Regions from separate parts of the Homo sapiens genome. Here regions 1, 3 and 4 are each linked to region 2. The links are contacts of gene promoters, found by promoter capture Hi-C in blood cells and fetal thymus (Javierre and others, 2016). All regions are on one chromosome and are shown on one strand. Each heading gives the region's core, a stretch centred on a gene start or on the middle of the fragment in contact. The rest is flanking DNA. Distances are from core to core; before and after follow the strand shown.

Region 1 (2,700 bases), core at 124-2,623, about 32 Mb after region 2:
AGGTCATGATGACAGACAATATTGCCATTTGCATATTTCCTTTATTATTATTCTAAGAACTAAGCACATATAAAAAATAAAACATCACCTGAGACAGAAAAGATGTCTGTAGTCCTGCCATATCAACACCACTTATTGAACTTGAGCGTGACATGGTGGGAGTGCTAGAAACAGAAAATGGCTTGCGTTCCTTAGGGAGTAAAAAAAATTCTGTTCATATTAAAGAGCAAAGAGATAAGCAGAGAAAGCAAGAACATTTCCTAGGGTTAATGAGAACAAAGATTCAGTCTTTTAAAAAAGCCACACTACAAAGGAATTCAATACAATCAAAAGAAGAAAAAAAACTTTTTTAAGATTCATTCTAATTTCCCCATAAAATGGCTTCTTAAGTCAAAAATACAATATTTGGCCAGGCATGGTGGCTTATGCCTGTAATCCCAGCACTTTGGGAGGCCAAGGAGGGTGGATCACCTGAGGTTGGGAGATCAAGACCAACTTGACTAACATGGAAAAACCTCGTCTCTACTAAAAATACAAAATTAGCTGGGCGTGGTGGCGCATGCCTGTAATCCCAGCTACTCGGGAGGCTGAGGCAGAATCGCTTGAACCTGGGAGGTGAGGTTGCGGTGAGCCGAGATAGCGGTGGAGGTGGCGGTGAGCTGAGATAGCACCACTACACTCCAGCCTGGGCAATAAGAGTAAAACTCAGTCTCCAAAACAAACAAACAAAAAAAAAGTACAATATTTACTAATTAAAACTGTAGCTAGACTTGGTTAGATCATCACAGAACCCATTTATTACAACAATGTAATTTGTTGGGTTTTTATAATAGAATAAGAATGTTTCTGTTAAGCTTCATATTATACAATATACTATCAATTAAACCTATTTCTGTAACATAAAATTACTAATGAGTGTTACAAATCATAAAATTTCTGGCTTATCCATTTTATTTTTAATGTATTCTTAAAATTCCAAATAAATTCAATAGGTAATTTAAATTTACCTATCGGTAGTTTAAATATATTATGCTAACTCCAAGTACACGGTAATTCTTTCAATACAGAAAACTCATTTTTATTTATTTATTTATTTTTATTTTTTTGAGAAAGAGTCTCGATCTGTTGCCCAGGCTGGAATGCAGTGATGCGATCTCGGCTCACTGCAGCCTCCGCCTCCCGGGTTCAAGCAATTCTCCCACCTCTGCCTCCCGAGTAGCTGGGATTACAGGCACATGCCACCATGCCCGGCTAATTTTTGTATTTTTAGTAGAGATGGGGTTTTGCCATGTTGGCCAGGCTGGTCTTGAACTCTTAGCCTCAAGTGATCCACCTACCTCAGCCTCTCAAAGTGCTGGGATTACAGATGTGAGTCCCCATGCTCAGCCTCAGAAAACTCATTTCAGAAAAATTACCCTCATTAACCAGAAAGAAAACAAGCCAGACTTACTCCTTAAGTGCCTATAGACCAAATGATGTGCACTGGTTTCAGTGACAGACAATTAAATTCATTTTTAAAAAGGGCAAGAGGTTTTATATTTCAAGTCCTAGAAATCATAGATCTCTTTGGATAAACTCAAAATTACTTTGGGTCCACTCTGAGCAGGACACTGATTATAATACTAGAATTCATCACTATGTTGATTTTAGACATTAAAAAAATGATACTTATAAAGCAGGGATGTCCAATCTTTTGGTTCCCTGGGCCTCATTTGAAGAACAAGAATTGTCTTGGGCCACACATAAAATATACTAACAATAGCTGATGAACTAAAAAAAAAAAAAAAAATCATGAAAAAAATCTCATGATGATTTAAGAAAGTTTGCAAATTTGTGTTGGGCTTCATTCAAAATCATCCTGGGCCACATGCCAACCAGGGCCACAGGTTGGACAAGCTTGTTATAAAGCATAGCTAAAATTAAAAAGCAATGATTAATCACAGCATCTACTAAATGGTTACACCACAAACAAACAAAAACAAAATTCAATACCTTTTCTTTTATTGTTTCTTGAGTAAAAATGGCTTTCTTCCTTTCTTGTTCAACTTTCATTCTTTCCATTTCTAACTGACTATTCAACAATGTCTAATAGAGAGAAATAAAGTTAGACAATTTCTGTGATAGTAATTCATGCCATGATAAGTCAATCTCAAAGTTAGAAGCATAAAGTATAAACTCATATTTGTTTTCCTACTAAAGACCAAGTTCCAAAAGCAGTGGCATCACCCATTTCATCTTGTTATCTCATTAATTTGCTGCCATCCCCAACCATTCTCTAATGTATGCCCTAAGAGCTGAGTGGTCACGAAGAGAAATACCTTTTCTTTCCTCGTCTCTTCAAGTGTTCTTACATATTCATCTTTTAGGTTTTCCAATTCAACCTGGTACCTATTAAACAAGGCAGAATTTAAAAAAACAGAAAATGAAAAAGATGCTAGTATAGACTATTAAAAACTCAGTACTTTATTAACTCCAGCTACATATTGAGAAATCATTTTTATTACCAGCTTGACATCAGTGATTTTCCAACAGTGTGTTCCAGATCCCATCTGAGTTTCACTCAGAAACCAAACCAAAAGTGAAAAAGCTCCACTTCTGTGCATTTTATTTATTGGTGCTCTGGGTTAAGATTTCATTTAAAAAGAGACTTTATAAAAATAATTTTGAGTACCATCATCCTATAATATGCTCAGATTCCAC
Region 2 (2,700 bases), core at 55-2,554:
AACTTCGAAAGTACAAATATGGTCAAAGGCAGCAGCAGCAAAGACTTTACTAACTCGTAATTCTTCACTGAGTTCTCGAAGGTGTTCCATAATGTCCACCAAGAAGCCAAAGTCACAAAGCCATTGTTTGTCTGAGAAGTGGACTGTTGTTGCCCCTACTGAAACCAAGAACGCTTCCATTTCTTTTCTTAGAGAGAATATTAGTTTTAAAGTTTTCCCTCTCCTAAGCCAATTGTTCAGACATCGTCCATTAACCCTTTCACCATGCTCTGATTCAGATTCCGTTAGTAAAGTCTGAAATTCAGGTCGCCTAACGCCTCTGGTCTTAATCAAAACTATCCATTCGGATATGGTATTTATGATCTGATTAACATCTACATCATAGGAGCTCAACAGTTCCAAGTGAAGAAATCCTGAATAATGAATGACATTCCAACAGTTGGGGCTTACGGCCTTTTCTCTCATGTATGAGACGAGTCCTGAGTTCTCACCAATCATCCTCAAAGTATGGGTCGTGGTCAGTCCAACCATTCTCTGCAAGCTAAGCCCTGCTGTCTGCAGGGACTCTAGGATTGCCGACATGAGCGCACCAACACTGAAATGATGAGTCAGGTTGATTATGGTCAGAAGATCTTCTTGCACCTCCAACTCAGGGCCTACACCGCGGATAAAGACCAGGAGGTAGTTCTCATAGGCCACAAAAGCCTGGTCGTCCAAGGCAAGAGAATAGGCTTTAAAGTCCCTGGCTCGGTTAAAAAGCTGGTTGCGTAGATTCCTGTCAATGCTCAGGATCCTCTGCCTTGTGATATCTGGAGATAAGTCAACGCCTTGCAGGACGCTTACATGCTCGGGCAGTACCTCTCTCAGCAACACCTCCATGCACTGGTATACAAAGTCCCCCTCACCCCAGCCGCGACCCTTCAAGGCCAAGAGGCGGCAGAGCCCGAGGCCTGCACGAGCAGCTCTCTCTTCAGGAGTGAAGGAGGCCACGGGCAAGTCGCCCTGACGCAGACGCTCCACCAGGGCCGCGCGCTCGCCGTCCGCCACATACCGCTCGTAGTATTCGTGCTCAGCCTCGTAGTGGCGCCTGACGTCGCGTTCGCGGGTAGCTACGATGAGGCGGCGACAGACCAGGCACAGGGCCCCATCGCCCTCCGGAGGCTCCACCACCAAATAACGCTGGGTCCACTCGGGCCGGAAAACTAGAGCCTCGTCGACTTCCATCTTGCTTCTTTTGGGCGTCATCCACATTCTGCGGGAGGCCACAAGAGCAGGGCCAACGTTAGAAAGGCCGCAAGGGGAGAGGAGGAGCCTGAGAAGCGCCAAGCACCTCCTCCGCTCTGCGCCAGATCACCTCAGCAGAGGCACACAAGCCCGGTTCCGGCATCTCTGCTCCTATTGGCTGGATATTTCGTATTCCCCGAGCTCCTAAAAACGAACCAATAGGAAGAGCGGACAGCGATCTCTAACGCGCAAGCGCATATCCTTCTAGGTAGCGGGCAGTAGCCGCTTCAGGGAGGGACGAAGAGACCCAGCAACCCACAGAGTTGAGAAATTTGACTGGCATTCAAGCTGTCCAATCAATAGCTGCCGCTGAAGGGTGGGGCTGGATGGCGTAAGCTACAGCTGAAGGAAGAACGTGAGCACGAGGCACTGAGGTGATTGGCTGAAGGCACTTCCGTTGAGCATCTAGACGTTTCCTTGGCTCTTCTGGCGCCAAAATGTCGTTCGTGGCAGGGGTTATTCGGCGGCTGGACGAGACAGTGGTGAACCGCATCGCGGCGGGGGAAGTTATCCAGCGGCCAGCTAATGCTATCAAAGAGATGATTGAGAACTGGTACGGAGGGAGTCGAGCCGGGCTCACTTAAGGGCTACGACTTAACGGGCCGCGTCACTCAATGGCGCGGACACGCCTCTTTGCCCGGGCAGAGGCATGTACAGCGCATGCCCACAACGGCGGAGGCCGCCGGGTTCCCTGACGTGCCAGTCAGGCCTTCTCCTTTTCCGCAGACCGTGTGTTTCTTTACCGCTCTCCCCCGAGACCTTTTAAGGGTTGTTTGGAGTGTAAGTGGAGGAATATACGTAGTGTTGTCTTAATGGTACCGTTAACTAAGTAAGGAAGCCACTTAATTTAAAATTATGTATGCAGAACATGCGAAGTTAAAAGATGTATAAAAGCTTAAGATGGGGAGAAAAACCTTTTTTCAGAGGGTACTGTGTTACTGTTTTCTTGCTTTTCATTCATTCCAGAAATCATCTGTTCACATCCAAAGGCACAATTCATTTTGAGTTTCTTTCAAAACAAATCGTTTGTAGTTTTAGGACAGGCTGATGCACTTTGGGCTTGACTTCTGATTACCCTATTGTTAAATTAGTGACCCCTCTTAGTGTTTTCCTGTCCTTTATTTCGGAGGACGCACTTCGAAGATACCAGATTTTATGGGTCATCCTTGGATTTTGAAGCTTATAACTGTGACAAAAAATGTGAAGGGAAGAGATTTGAAACATGTGGAAGGAAAAGTGAGTGCAGACTATAAACTTCCAAAAAGACAAGCCCAAAATACACCTAAACGTTATGTCAGATTATTTTGTTAAAATCAGTTGTTAGTGACGTCCGTACGTTAATAGAAAAAAGAATGCTTCAGTTTGGAGTGGTAGGTTTCTAGAGGGATTTATTGTGAAAGTATAAACTATTCAGGG
Region 3 (2,700 bases), core at 86-2,585, about 27 Mb after region 2:
ACAATCTGGATTTCCCTTAAACATATTCTGGATCCCACCCTGAATATACCAAAAAACTGTCATCGATGACAAATGTTCAGCCTATGCAGACTTGTACACTAACAACCTGATTTTGCCCAGCACTTAGGGAAGATGGGCTTCTTACTGATTTATGCCCCAGCCCTCACCTTTATCCCTGCCCCTCCATCATGTATTATGACTTGCTAATAATGCCATTTCAGAGCAGGCAAGTTGCCTTGTGCTTTCACCCAGGTGCTGGAGTCAGCCTGCCTGGGATTGCACCCATCTTTGCCTCTTAAGTAACCATGTGATGTTGGACAACTGACTTGAGTCCTTTAAAAGCCTTGGCTTCCTCATCTGGAAAGTGAGGTTAATAATAGTATCTACTTTGTTAGAAAGATGGTCAGGATTGAATGAGATAATCCATGTAAATCCCGTAGCATGGTGCCTGGCATGTGGTTTCTACACAGTACACAGTAGCAGCTGTTGTTGATGTTGTTGTTCTTGAAGGTGAGATTTCTCATCAGCCAGTTGTTTGGATTATAAAAGATTAGTAAAATGTTTAATAAGTTATAAGAAAAGAGCCCTGAATAAAGGGTATGGGAAGGGTTGCAGCTTGTGAGTTACCATGAGATGGTGGAAGGAGGTTATCTGAAATTGAATGAAAAATTGTAGCATCAGATGTGTTTGGGTGTGGTTAATAATACACGTGGTGGTGAACTGAGGTAGATGGTAGAAGTTTGAGGGTGTACATTTTGAATCTTCCCACATGGCTCATTTCAGCCAGTTACAGTTTTCTGTGTTCACCTAGTATTTCTTACAGACAAAAATCATGAAAAAGTAAATGCAAAATTTCAACATGTTCGAATTGTTTCTTAGTATATCGGTGGCTTTGGAATGCATTTTCATTCTCAAAACAAGCTTTATAGCAGAACTGAAGATATTTAATTCAGGTTCTGTGGGGGTTTCTTAGTAGTTAGCCACTTGCATGATACCCGTTGAGAATGGGACAAATTGATACTATGCTCAGGAATGATAGTATGCCTTGCTTTATTTTGGCATGTGTAAAATTGAAACCAGAACACCAAATTTTTCTTCTTTAGAAGTATGTATTTGATAACCAAGTAAACTGTATTCATTATAGAAAAACAATACACAAATGTTTTAAAAAATAGAGCCATAATCCTGGGAATAACCACTTTTTAAAAAGCTTGACATATATCCTTCTAGATTATTTTCGAGTATGAATGTTAGCATTTGGAGTTACATTTTGTTTTGACTGCTTTTTAGATTTGTGCCCTAATTTTGACAGTTGCTCACTGTAAATTATTTTTAGTTGTTTTCAAAGCAATATTTATGATATAAAAAGATCTAATTATTTGCTTTGAACTCCTTTTTGGTGTGTACCTGGATGTTAATACTTATAACTTTAAAAAAATCTCAGCGTGAATTCAGAATTATAAGCTTAGTATTGGTTGCATTCTATTTTGGAAGACCTATAGAGAGCTGTCCACCCTCCTACACCACTACTAATATCCTGTCCTTGCCATGTGACGTACTGAAGCCACAAGGGGAAAGAGCCCCATGAAGCTCTGTCTCCCTCTCTTCTCCCCAGCACAACACACACATACACACTTAGGCATGTTTGTCTTTCTTTGTCTCTGCTCTTTTCTTGTGTCTGTACTTGTCTGTCAGTCGGCCTGTCTCTCCCTTACTGGAGCCATTCATCATGCCCTCCTCATTCAGGGACAGAGTGTGCTTTCTCTGGGCTGGTGCCAGATCCTGGAGAGAGGAGCGCTTTGAAAACTCAACTTGGACTCCTCAGCAGACCACATTGCAGTTGTGCTCAGCATCTGGCCACCACTTTGTCCACTTAATATAGGGTCCCTAACCCCACCTATAATTTGCCCACTTCTCTTCTGATCTGGGAGCAAACACTTTTTTAGAGCTAGATGCCCAGTTTAAAATCCTGTGAAAAATAAGAGCTCAGTGAAAGGATAAGGGGAGTCCAACTCAACTACAATAAATTTGGTTTTTCCTTCTTGCTTTCTTGTGGGGGGAAAGCCAGATGCTGTCCTTTTCACAGAGTAAGTTACCAGTCCGTGATAATTCAGTAGCATGACAAGAATTTGAGCTGGCACTTTTCAGCCAGAATCTCAGTTACTTACACACACTACACACACACAATCTGTTTCAAGTTTTAATGAATGAAAAATTCACATGATAGATTGTCATTCTTAGTTTTTAAATAGTTTTTATTGTTATTGAAGTAGAAAATAGACTTTTTTGGGATATTATCGATACATCAGCAGACTTTTAACTTAAGAAGCTTTGAACCTTGATTTTTCTAGTGGAATTCCATATTAAGAGTTAATAGGCAAGAAAAGAAGATTTTAACCAAAGAAAACGGGGAGGATGGACAGTGATGGGAATGGAAAATTGAAAGGACAAGCTTAAAGTTACAGTCAGTTCTGCTATAGCACAACATGCATTCCTAAAAAATTACTGCACAATGCAAAATTACGCAACAAAAACCACATGAGGCTTATTGGGAAAACAGGGTTATGGCACAACACTCAAAGACCTCATCAGTGACACACACAGAAAAACATAGGAACCTAATGAAAAGGGTAGCACAGTCTTACAAATGTTAAATGGTAAAAAAATACATAAATACTAGAATAAACATGGCAGTTACCT
Region 4 (2,778 bases), core at 11-2,510, about 32 Mb after region 2:
TCCTAGTTTTCAGTGAACCTTAAGGAAAGCTTGTCCTTTATGGTCCCCCAATTAGGTTCAGTTCAATAGCATTCACTGAGCTGAAAGTCAATGCCAGGCAGTGAGCGTGGGAATAGAGTTCACAGTCCCTATCAAGAGATACCAGCCTCCTTCTGCATCACATGTCTCAGCGTCAACTATGAAACTACTTTTTCTTGCCCAGACAACTCCACAGATGGTTTCACTGAGGATTTAACCTCAGTGCTTATCAAAATGGGCTCCTGTAGCCTGAACCCCCAACAATACTGGATACCCTTTGATTAGTGGTAGTGAGCATTGCAACCCTCTCAGATAGTGAAAAGCAGCAGTCACCTTAAAGGCCACCTAGTCCAGTCTCACCCATTTCACAGGGGAGGAAACTGAGGCCTAGGGATAGAGTACAGCTAGCCGATGAAGAAGTCTGCAAAGGTATCTGGCCCTGCATCTGCTTGCTTTGAGACTAACAGCCTGACTCACCATGGTGGTATTTTGATAAACGACACCAGGCACTCTCACTGGCTTAGATTGATTGACGGATTAGAAATAGCCATCTGCCCTTGCCAGGAATGAAAGCAACAGAGACATGCAAGCAAAACCTTCAACAGATTTATTTTACTTCAAATGGAACATATCATAAACAATTAGACTATCTGCTATGGTTTTTAAACAGACAGATAGTCTGAATGGTCCTATCTAGACACACCAGTCCCATTATAAAAGCCCCATCAAGCAGGGCTCGGCTTCCCACACCTGTAGTCCCGGCTACTTGGGAGGCTGAGGTGGGAGGACTGTTTGAGCCCAGGAGTTTAAAACCAGCCTGGGCAACATAGTGAGACCCTGTCTCTAAAAATAATAATAAATTAAAGCTCCAGAAAGACCTCTACAGTGAATCTGACCCCTCCCTCCCCGGAATGAACACTAACAAAGAGCTGCTACTAATAGCATTTCAAACAGTTACTGGAAAAAAGTAATGACTCATTACATGTTCATTTTTATTTAAAATAATTTAACAAAGGTAGAAATATTTAGAGAAAAAAAAAATCTCCCATACCCCAAAGAGAGAGACAGGGTTAACATTTTGGGAGGGAGACAGAAGGGAATCATGCTATAAACAGCTTTCTCTGTCTTTTCAGAATTTATTTATTTATGTTTAAACCTCTAAAGAGGTTTAATTCTTTCTTGGGTATCAATTGCCTGTGATCAAGGAGTAATCATATTGTTACTAATACACTCTTGACAGCTTTTGGTCATGCAGTTCTGAGCAGTTGGAAGATAAAGTTCTTAGTTACAGCTTCTAATACTCATAAATCTCACCAACAGTGTGGGGCCCCACTGGAGTTCCCACTCTCATCTTGACCAAGATGATTTACTCAGCTTGCCCACAGTGCTGCCTCTTGACATTCTGAAGCCCTGGGGAATTCCTCCACACCCTCTGACTTCCTGTAACTGAGCACTGAGGCTCAGTGCATCTCTATTTAGCACTCCTCTTACTGTCTCATATTTAACTAGTGTTTCCACTGGATTGCAGAAGTTTTGAAGGCAGAGCAGGATTACATTTTTCTCCTCTTTAAAAAAAAAAAGAAAAGAAAAGAAAAAAAACCCACAGTGCTTTCACAGAGCCTCAAAAGAACTCGAAATACTTGCTGGCATTGTACTGAATATTCTCAACCTTTTCCCCCTACCCAGATACATCCACAACAATAAAGTTGGAGCAAGGTAGAGAAAAGTTAGTAGATGTTTATAATGAAAGCATAGAAAACAAATCAGATTAAAGCACTATTAATAGCAAACAAGAATCGTGGGCTATCCTATTGCTAATAACAATAATAGTAACATATAACTGTGAACCTTTATTATACACTAAGCATTTCCTATACATTCCTTCACTTAGCCTCGTCTATATGGCAGATGTTCCATTATCCCCACTTTACACATGAAGACACCGAGGCTGGGAGAGATTAAGTAGTTTCTCCAAAGTCACCTGCCAGAGAGGAAGGAGCTGCGACTCTAATTTTGCTTTCTCTGACTTCACACCATCCCATTTTTCCAGAATCAAGAAAACATGAGCACTCAGGAATATTTTCACATTTTAAACTTTATTCAAAAAGCAGCACATAAGATATATCTTAGCACTAATTCCATGCAATCACCAAATTTTCCTAAACAACAGTAGTAGTAGTAATTTCTTAGAGTCGCTGTAAGCTCCTTAACTGTCTTCTGAATTAATAAGGAAAATTAAATTATGTTTTCTAGACTTTGCATTAGTATATTTCATTACTTTCCAAGTTTTCAAAAATTGGTGATCTGAGTAGAGTGAATTCACCTTGTCTAAGCCACTTAGGGGCTTAGAGACTCTGTTATCTTAGAAATCTTCACCTTAGAATTCTACCTATTACATTATACAATTAAACAAACTACTTTTTTTCTCATGCATTGTACCAATCAGCCCCTTAACTGAAAAAAGATGACCCTTGGAAGCTTAGAAGAGAATTGACAACGAATACTTCTTTTGCCAGGTCTTTGGGCTGGGATACAAAACATCACGTTATCTATGAATATATTGTGGTCCCTCAGTGAAAGCTGTCACCAAATATTGCAATAAAACTAAGAAAACTTTTGAAGTGGAATGCATATTTCTGCCCAGAAAATGCTGGATGCAGAACAACTAGTTCACTGCAGACAACTGTTTGCTTTAAAATGTAAGCAACATGCCCAGCTCAGGACTGAAGTGGCCAGAGTGCCTACTTTATCAGAATGGCA

Evidence for each region. Contacts are between HindIII fragments. The CHiCAGO score rates a contact against its expected background, and 5 or more counts as called.
Region 1: a fragment that was not itself captured here is called in contact with the fragment with the promoter of EPM2AIP1 in region 2 in 1 of 17 cell types (total CD8 T cells); the score reaches 5.8 in total CD8 T cells.
Region 3: a contact is called between a fragment that was not itself captured here and the fragment with the promoter of EPM2AIP1 in region 2, in 1 of 17 cell types (total CD8 T cells). The highest score is 5.4, in total CD8 T cells.
Region 4: a contact is called between a fragment that was not itself captured here and the fragment with the promoter of EPM2AIP1 in region 2, in 4 of 17 cell types (total CD4 T cells, naive CD4 T cells, activated CD4 T cells and 1 more). The highest score is 8.1, in total CD4 T cells.

Annotation. Positions count from the first base shown.
Region 1 is chr3:69,025,908-69,028,607 of GRCh38, forward strand. TMF1 (TATA element modulatory factor 1) reads right to left here. Exons shown (of 17, transcript NM_007114.3): 12 at 2,319-2,388; 13 at 1,993-2,085; 14 at 89-190. Among named protein-coding and RNA genes, the nearest start is that of EOGT, 14 kb to the left of the region's middle. The HindIII fragment of the contact is 1,042 bases long and covers 853-1,894 here.
Region 2 is chr3:36,991,827-36,994,526 of GRCh38, forward strand. EPM2AIP1 (EPM2A interacting protein 1) reads right to left here and starts at 1,305. Exons shown (of 1, transcript NM_014805.4): 1 at 1-1,305. The coding sequence starts at 1,251. It overlaps MLH1 (mutL homolog 1), which reads left to right and starts at 1,692. Exons shown (of 19, transcript NM_000249.4): 1 at 1,692-1,837. The coding sequence starts at 1,722. RefSeq lists enhancers at 476-555, 586-905, 1,026-1,375, 1,746-1,965, 1,882-2,393. The HindIII fragment of the contact is 4,668 bases long and covers 1-2,176 here.
Region 3 is chr3:63,974,241-63,976,940 of GRCh38, forward strand. All of the region lies in intron 5 of ATXN7 (ataxin 7), which reads left to right. Among named protein-coding and RNA genes, the nearest start is that of PSMD6-AS2, 28 kb to the right of the region's middle. The HindIII fragment of the contact is 254 bases long and covers 1,209-1,462 here.
Region 4 is chr3:69,081,597-69,084,374 of GRCh38, forward strand. No RefSeq gene overlaps it. Among named protein-coding and RNA genes, the nearest start is that of ARL6IP5, 2.0 kb to the right of the region's middle. RefSeq lists enhancers at 481-540, 1,345-1,504. The HindIII fragment of the contact is 2,467 bases long and covers 28-2,494 here.